3 separate regions of the Homo sapiens genome follow, and regions 2 and 3 are each linked to region 1. The links are contacts of gene promoters, found by promoter capture Hi-C in blood cells and fetal thymus (Javierre and others, 2016). All regions are on one chromosome and are shown on one strand. Each heading gives the region's core, a stretch centred on a gene start or on the middle of the fragment in contact. The rest is flanking DNA. Distances are from core to core; before and after follow the strand shown. Region 1 holds the start of MYO5B (myosin VB). Region 2 overlaps MYO5B (myosin VB). Region 3 overlaps MYO5B (myosin VB).

What was found. Contacts are between HindIII fragments. The CHiCAGO score rates a contact against its expected background, and 5 or more counts as called.
Region 2: a fragment that was not itself captured here is called in contact with the fragment with the promoter of MYO5B in region 1 in 1 of 17 cell types (naive CD4 T cells); the score reaches 5.6 in naive CD4 T cells.
Region 3: a fragment that was not itself captured here is called in contact with the fragment with the promoter of MYO5B in region 1 in 1 of 17 cell types (endothelial precursors); the score reaches 5.3 in endothelial precursors.

The regions. Positions count from the first base shown.
Region 1 is chr18:50,193,724-50,196,559 of GRCh38, reverse strand. It overlaps MYO5B (myosin VB), which reads left to right and starts at 1,413. Exons shown (of 40, transcript NM_001080467.3): 1 at 1,413-1,793. The coding sequence starts at 1,767. RefSeq lists silencers at 1,199-1,438, 1,499-1,738. The HindIII fragment of the contact is 3,223 bases long and covers 275-2,836 here.
Region 2 is chr18:49,945,384-49,948,219 of GRCh38, reverse strand. The region is part of intron 14 of MYO5B (myosin VB); the gene reads left to right. It also overlaps the pseudogene RNA5SP457. Among named protein-coding and RNA genes, the nearest start is that of SNHG22, 130 kb to the right of the region's middle. The HindIII fragment of the contact is 3,763 bases long and covers 1-2,836 here.
Region 3 is chr18:50,022,831-50,025,666 of GRCh38, reverse strand. The region is part of intron 4 of MYO5B (myosin VB); the gene reads left to right. Among named protein-coding and RNA genes, the nearest start is that of MIR4320, 100 kb to the left of the region's middle. The HindIII fragment of the contact is 1,538 bases long and covers 678-2,215 here.

The DNA.
Region 1 (2,836 bases), core at 164-2,663:
TCACCTGGAGGCAGAAAGAACAATGAGTACTGGCCCCACACCAGAGTTTATGGTTCAGTAGGTCTGCAGTGGAGCCCAATAACTTGTATTTCTAACAGTTACCAGGTGATGCTGATGGTGGGCGTGGGGGGTGGGGACACACTTTAAGAGCTACAGGAATCCGGGGAAGGGAAATATGCAGAAAAACTTTTGAGGAAGAGAAAAAAATCCCTTTCTGCTCTTGCCACTGATGTGAAGAGTTCCATTTTTAGGTCCAATGAGAGCCGCCCAAGCTTTGGTCAATGCATTTGTCACCCTGGAAGTACCATCCTTTAGACTTTCAGAGGAGCTTTAAAAATTGGGATACCCAGGTCCCATCCTTCATTATATCAGAATTCCTTGGGTTGGGGCCTCTTCCTTGGAACGCTTAAAGCTCCCCATGTGACTCTCATTGTGGAGGTGCCCATGGGAAGGCCTGCACAGGTGAATTACAACGGGATCTTGAGTTCCAGGTGGGATGCCTCTGAGAATCACCTTCTGGGGCTCTTGAACAACTGCCCCGGCTGGTACAGATATATCTTCCGGTTGAGAACCACTTTTCAGGGGCCACCCCTGGGTCAGGGACAGATGTCAGCTTCAGAAGGGAGTGTCTCCTCTGACAGCCCCTCGTCTCCCTCCACAGACTTCTGGCAGTTTTTTTTTTTTTTTCTTGGTTGAAATTTCTACTTTTCACTGGAAGTAGGAGAGGAGCTGAAGTTGCTGCAGGCAGCCAAGTGCCATGGTCAGAGAGGGAACACAAATAAACGAGGTAGTGAGTGGCAAAAGGACCCGGAGTCTGCATGTAGACGAGACGGGGGTTGGGAGAACGTGAGACTTCCCGGAAAAGCAGAAGCCCTCTGAGATGAGTGGCCTGGAGTCTCCTTGGAGGCTGTGGGCGAAAGTGGACAATATTTGTACAGAAGGAGTTACGACTCCCACTTTACTGACAAGGATTTCCGCGCAGAGAGTTCAGTTTGAAGGAGAAGATCCCTGGTGTATGTATATCCAGGTCGCCTTAATAACGATCTACGAGTAACTGAATTTTAATCATGAAAGCGCTGAATACAGCCAGGTAAAATCGAGGGCAATGTCTGGGGCCTTCCAGCCATAGACGCTTCTCTTTTTTCCCCCCTCTCTGGTTAGTTCCTCTTCCCTTTTCTTGTCTGCACCGCGTTCATGCCGGACTCCGCGGGGCCCGGTGCGGGTGGAAGCGGAGCGCGGCAGGGCAGGTGCGGGCGCCGGGGCGCACCTGTGCCTGCGCGCGCGCGGCGTCCAGCAGGGGGCGGCCCGCGCCGGTCCCGGAGCTCCTCTCTGAGCGCCCCGCCCCCGGCCCGGAGGCCCAGGTGGCAGCGGGGGCGCGGGAGGGCGCGTCGGGCCGGGCACCGGCAGGGCTCAGAGGCGCGGCGGCGCACGGGCCGTCCGCTCTGACGCGAGCGGGTCCTCCCTCCTCGCCGGCCCTCGCCTCCTCCCCACACCTGGGAGGGGAGTGGTGCGGCGCGGCCTCCTCCCCCGGCGCTCGCAACTCCTGTCCGGCCGTAGCTGCGCCGCCGCGGCGGGAGTAAAGGTCGCGCCGCCGGGAGCGAGCCGGCCGCGGCGCCTGCGGGAAGCCGGCGGGGCAGGTCGGAGAAGAGCGAGAAGATCGAGAAACTCCAGGCCAGCCCGGGAACATGGCGCCAGGCGGGCCAGCCGCGGACTGAGAGCCGCGGGGCAGCCAGGAGCCGGGGCCCGAGCCCCGCCCGGCCCGGGCCATGTCGGTGGGCGAGCTCTACAGCCAGGTGAGCGCGGCCGCGAGGGAGGCGCCCCGGGGCCGGGGTGGCGCGCTCGGGGCCACCTAGTACTCAGGGTCGCCTTCTCCCTCGGCTACTGGAGGCGGGAGGTGACGGGAGACCCCCCTCCGCGGTGTCCTCCTCGTCACTGTCCTCGGAGTCCCTAACTTCGGTTGGCGGAGAAAGTTTGGCGGTTCCGGGAACGCCCGCACTGACCGGCCACCCGGCTCCTAGAGGTTCCGCAGCGCCACGGCTCAGCACCAAGCCAGGGCTGTCGCCCCCTCCCCGCCGCGCCCCTCACTTTCGTTGCCTGGGCTCGGCTCCAACCGAGTTCCCCGAACGGCAGGGCGACCCTGCCAGCTCTGAGCGCCGTGCGCGGGACGGGCCCCCGCGGTGCTCCCGCTGCTGTCCCCTGTCCCCGCCGTGGACCCCACCCCAGGGGCTCTGCGGCGCCGGCTCTCGAGGGCGCGCCTCCGAGGCGTCCTTTCCTCCCGCATACCCACAACAGGGAACCCTGGACTTGGGAGAGGTGGGGGTTCTGGACTTGGTGGAGAGGGAGGAGACAACCTGGCGTGAGGGCGCGGCGGCTGGATGGAGTGAGGGTAAGCAATGGGTAGAGGGGTGCGCCGTTATCTCCGGAGACCCCAGGGAAGAGCATTGTGAATTTGCTGGGGATGGATGTTTTGACGCGGCCTCTTTGGTACAAAGAGGGCTTCAGTGACTGCGGGGAGGGGGTTGGAGTAAAGTCGAACCGGGAGCAGGGTGTGAGTTTCAGGATGCCTTCAAGGTCAGAAGGGATGTGTGAGGCTGGGTGCTCCGAATCGGGAACAGGTGCAGCCCGGGCGGAGACGCCCGCGTTCCGCAGCAGTTGCTGTGGTTAAAGTTAGGGACAAGCCACCGCTTCCAGGGGAGCTCGCGGCAGCGCTGCAGCCGCCCGGGACCCCTCGAGTTTCAACCTGGAGTCAGTAGTGAGAGGGGCAAAGGCCTTTTCTTCACATGTGCCCTATGCACCTTTAAGAAAACAAGTTTTGGATAGTCCAATGCCTGGTTTT
Region 2 (2,836 bases), core at 337-2,836, 250 kb after region 1:
GACACCACCCAAACTGTTCTTATACTATGTCTTATTTTAACTTTATGTGTCTGTTTCAGAGGAAATATCTTTTATATTCTTATAAACACAAATGAGTAGGTGTGATTTCCAAGGTAACAGCTATGTGTCAGCTGTAATTGACTTTTTATTTTATTATTATTATACTTTAAGTTTTAGGGTACATGTGCACAACGTGCAGGTTTGTTACGTATGTAGATAGCATTAGGAGGTATACCTAATGCTAAATGACGAGTTAATGGGTGCAGCACACCAACATGGCACATGTATACATATGTATACAGATGTAACAAACCTGCACGTTGACTTTTTTTAAACTGCCAAATGGCCTTTACAAAGTTTTTTCATGCTTCTTAGTCCCTTTTTGATTTGCCCCAGGCTTTTAAAAGCTATATATAGGAATGAATAGCAGAGAATACCAAAGCCAGTCCCTATGTACAGGTTTTAAACAAGTGACAGGAAAATATTGGTTTGTCTGGAGGTGCTAGCTTGAGTGTTTGAGTTCGAAGGGGACAAATTGTGAGAAATGCCCGGGTGGCTGCCCTAAGGTAAATTGTGGCAGCTCTCTTACTGCTCAGTCAGCTTATAAACAGACTGCTTAATAACTCTAAACACATAATTGGAGTTTGTCAATTGCCCTGATCTGATTACTATACACTATATATGTCAAAACTAGGTACCCCATGTATGTACAGTTATTATGCGTCAATTAAAAAATAAAAATTTAAAAACTTCTTTTCGCTCAGAAATGTGATCCTTTGTATGGGTCCTTTGTCAAGTAAGAGCTTGGTGACTACGGCTGGGTGCGGTGGCTCACGCCTGTAATCCCAGCACTTCGGGAGGCCAAGGCAGGCGGATCACAAGGTCAGGAGATCAAGACCATCCTGGCTAACATGGCGAAACCCCATCTCTACTAAAAATACAAAAAATTAGCCAGGCGTGGTGGCGGGCGCCTGTAGTCCCAGCTACTCGGGAGGCTGAGGCAGGAGAATGGCGTGAACCCGGGAGGTGGAGTTTGCAGTGAGCTGAGATCGTGCCATTGCACTCCAGCCTGGGTGACAGAGTGAGACTCCGTCTCAAAAAAAAAAAAAAAAAAAAAAGAGCTTGGTGACTACTTTTCATTGTGACTCTGGGCTTGTGTATAGTTGGGACACTTCTCAGGTGAGGTATCCTTACGTAGCCCAATCTTCTTAAGGGATGGGTGTGGATGGAACCATAATTTGTATTTCTTGCCTGGGTCTTTTGCGGATGTCTACAGCCCAGCGTTGAACATGGTATCTCTTAGTCTTTCAGTCCTGTCATCAAACTAGATCTCTTATGTTCATTTGAGTTTATAAAACAAATTTTGAATAGAATACGAAGCATACTGGTACCTCCTTTTGAGAACTAATATTCCAACACAGTCATCTCCCTCTAAATCCCAGATCCTGCCACTGCCAAAGGCAGTCTCAACAGCAGGAACTTAAAGGAAAACCTAGCTTTTCAAATAACATACAAATTCTTCAGACTAAACCTTGATTATGTTGATTCCAGATTATAGCACAGTGCCAGCTTAGGTACAAATCTGCCTTGGACAGTTTTTACTTTCTGTTCTTAAGTTACAAAGTCCCTGTTTAATGTATAAAATTAAAAGCATAGATAGCCTTTCTAATGGAAGCAGGAGAAAGGGGCTGAAATCTTAAAATTCTCCCATTGGTGATTCTGATTTCCAAGTTCCTAGTGTGATTTTTCATACAGATCAAGCATCACAAATCTAGAATGCTCTAAAATTTGAAACTTTTTGAGCACCAATATGACACTCAAAGGAAATGCATCTACGGCCATACCACCCTGAACGTGCCTGAGCTTATCTGATCTCAGAAACTAAGCAGGGTCGGGCCTGGTTAGTGCATGGATGGGAGGAAATGCTTACTGGAGTATTTTTGCATTTTGGATTTTCAGATTAGGGATGCTCAACCAGTAAGTATAATGTAAATTCTCCAAAATCTGAAACACTTCTGGTCTCAAAATTCTCAAATTTTGAATAACGGATACTCAATCTGTACCTGTTAATGACCTTAGGGCTTAATATTTTTTTTTTTTTTACAGTAAAAGCTACTATGAATGATTTCTGTAAATTTAACCCCCTCCCCACTACCCAATAGTATAGTTATGCAGATTGGTAACTTCTACCCATGCCTCAAACATCTTGAAAATTCACTTCAGAAAGTATATGAATTAGAATTATTTAATAAGCCAGTGTTTTGCTTTGCCATGACAGACAGGCATGAATCACAATGGCATCTTCAAAATGTGAACCTGCCTCCAGCCTCCCATTATTTCCCCATGGAGCTTTCTCAGCACCAGTCTGACGGGCCACTTTGTCCTTTCTTACCTGTGTCTTGGCTCTCTGGCCCTGGTCCATGGAGCCCCCAGGCCCAGCTCTCCTCTCCTCCTCCTCCTCCTCCCCTCCTCCCCTCCACCAGCCCATTCTGCTCCTGCCACTCTCAGTGTTTAGTTCACCTGAACACTGTTCATCTATGGCTTTCTGCCATAGACAGTGAGGACAAACAAATGGGCCTTTAACATGTGGCTACTGGATAAGGTTTGCATCCAGAGAAAACTCTGGCTGTTGGTTGGAATGTGTTTGGGTGAAGGTGTGCCCGGAGGTATGCCCTCACGCTTTCGGTGACTGTAGTGATCCAGGAGAGAGCTGGGTAGTCCTGAGCTGGAGCAGCAGCTCCAGCTCCAGATTAATGAAAAAAAAAAGGACTGCATGATACTCCCCTGTGGGCAGAACTTGGTACTTGATTGAGATATAGGAAGTAGGGTGAGGACA
Region 3 (2,836 bases), core at 197-2,696, 170 kb after region 1:
TCATCTGTCTAGGCTGGGTTAAAGAGCACTGCACTGTCTAGTAGCTCTTTGATTCTATTAGGATATAATAAACATATACTGTTACAGGACCAACAGGTTCATATGCCCACTGCACAGTAACAGACCAGTTACACTGAGACAGCAGGGTTTTCAGCAGAGAAAGAGTTTAATGATCACAGGGCACCAAGAGAGGAGATGGGAGGAGATCCTTAAATCCACCTCCTTGAGGAGTTCCGGGCTGGAGTTTTTAAGGGGATCACAGAGGGCAAGGGGCTAGACAACTGGGGTTGTGAACTGGTTGGAGGAAGGGTGATGAAATCATCGGGATGTGGAAACTGCGTTCTTTGAGTTAGTTTCTCCTGAGGTCCTTCAGACCAGCTATGTTAGTATCACTGATATGCAGGTCTTGACCTGTAGATGGTACTTAAAGCCTTGGGAATGGATGATGTCAATCAAGGAGAGATTGTTAGGGAAGTGAGAACTTCCCAGATCTCTGAAAGAAAATCTTAAATGGAAAATGTTTTTTAATATTCAAGTTGTTATCTATAGAGCAGTGAACGGGAGCTATAGTCTTGTAACAGGGTCTCTGTAATTCTAGGACAGTAGGCACCACATAACTATGAGGAAGAGAGTCAGAAAGCAAGCCGACCTCATGAACACTGAATGTGCTGCAAGCTTGGTTTATTTTCATTTTCCCACTCCCTTCTTCCCTGATTAATTTTATACAGTTCGTAAGGACAGTTTTAGTATGATAATGAACAGTGTTTTGACTTAAAGGAACTCCCCAAAGCTCTTAATTTTAACTATCTCCATGATTTTAAGTCCCAGTGTATGGCTAGTCTACCTGGTCTTTGTCCACAGCAGATACTCGGGAAGTCAGGGAACCTCTCTGGTTGAGGAATACTGCAGAAAGGTCTGCAGGCAGTGCAGCATGGCCAGGAGAAAGCCCCATGTCTATGTCCTTTAGAACCACAGTGGACAGGCTTAAAAGCAAATGCCTTTGAACCTTCCTGGCTCCTGCCCCTATTACAGATCGATAATGTTGGAAGCCAGAGGGAGGAGTGTACTTACAGCCAAAAGATGACGGAAATTAATTTGGTCCTCTGTATTCCCAGAACTAGAGAATAAAATGATTCATGATTGATGACTTGCTTTTAAAAAGATGTCCTTTTTGGTTAAAAAGGGCATTAAACCTTCTCTACAAGAGCAAGTACCAAGAATACTTAGAATTATGGGATGTCTTTTGAGAAAATGTCTTGCACCTGGTAGCAGAGAGAAGGAGAGAGGTGGAATCCCAGCACCCAGGACTTCTCTGCTTAGTCACCCTTCCTAGCTAAGAATGACTGCACCCCTGACCTTGTGTTCCTGAGAATGTTAATATAAGTGTTTGAACTATTTAGAGTCTCTCTAGCCACATTTAGTTTAAATGTATGGTATTGATCTTCAGTTATGATACTGGGGATTAATATATGCTCACTCGGGTTTTTTCTGCTTCCGCACTGGGTCATTGGGCTCCTAGAGTTTTATTCCATTTGTCATTGCACATATTAATCCATCATAATTACCTGATGTGTACGAACTCCAGCTCAGCAATCTAAAGCAGAGATTTTTCTTCCTGCCTGTATGGGGTTGTCACTTCTACAATTTTGTCCATTTTACTTCCTTATATTTATAGAGCCCCTTATATTTTATTTTATGGAGTATGTGTTGAGGTAGTGCATAGAGTGAAGATTTTTTTTCTTTCTGAAGTTGGAAGGCTCTTCAGGTCAAACAGCATAGGACAGGGTTTCATCTTTCAGCATCTTCAACGCATGATACCCGGTCTAGGCTGGAAACTTCTAGTGTCTCCGGGAGGCAGCCATTCCACTTTTGAAAGCTCTTAGAGGTGAAGAGATACCAGCCGCCCTGCTACCTACCACAGCCCCAGGGCCTGCCTCTTTTCTGGAGCAGCTGCTAGAACAGACTATTCTGGGAATGGTCTTTTAGTCTTTTTTCTCTAAGCTAAACTCTTCCTCATCTCATTAGCATTCTTCATGTGATAGTTTACTATTCTGATTGACTTTCTCAGAATATATTTCAATTTTTCTAAGTATCTCACAAAATGTGGCTTCCGTAATTGAGCCAGGATTCTAACTCAACTGGCCAGAGAAGAGGATCATGGCCCTCTCCCATTCTCCTGGTATCTAGATACTCTGGAGCCGCATTAATAGAAGCTTACTAATAGCTTCATACTATGATGGTTGATAATAACCAAAATAGTCCAGTGCTTTCCGTCTGAACTGTGGTCACGCCGCAGCTTGGTTTGGCATAATACCCTTGTGAGGTGTGTTGTGGGCCCACTGCAGTTCAAAAACTTGTCTAGGTCATGTAGGCTAAGTGGCAGTGTCCATTTAGAATCCAGGTGCTCCCATTCTCTAGAGCTCTTTCCTCTAGAACTGAGGTGGGCTGATGACGCAATGTTCTTAGAACTAATGAAAGATGTCTTTACTGTCATGGTAGTAAATCACTAAAGTGACTTTTTTTTTTTTTTGTAAGACATTGTAGGATTTCTCACATAGGAAATCTGTAAGAAGAATAGATGGTTTATTCTTAAAGAAGATGCCTAGAAGACCCTTTGTAACTTTGACAAAGCAGCAAATTCCACCTCCCATCCTGCCCCTAGTCCCATCTATGGGTTTGTCAGTTGCCTCCTCCAACAATGCTGGTCTGCTGTTATCTTAAACAGCAGCACACCAAAGCTGAACTTAGCTTCCCACTTTAGGCTGGGCTTCTTCCTTAGTCTGGTCCGGGGATTCCCTTAAACCTGTCCTAGAACCTAGGAGGTGGGGGTAAAGGG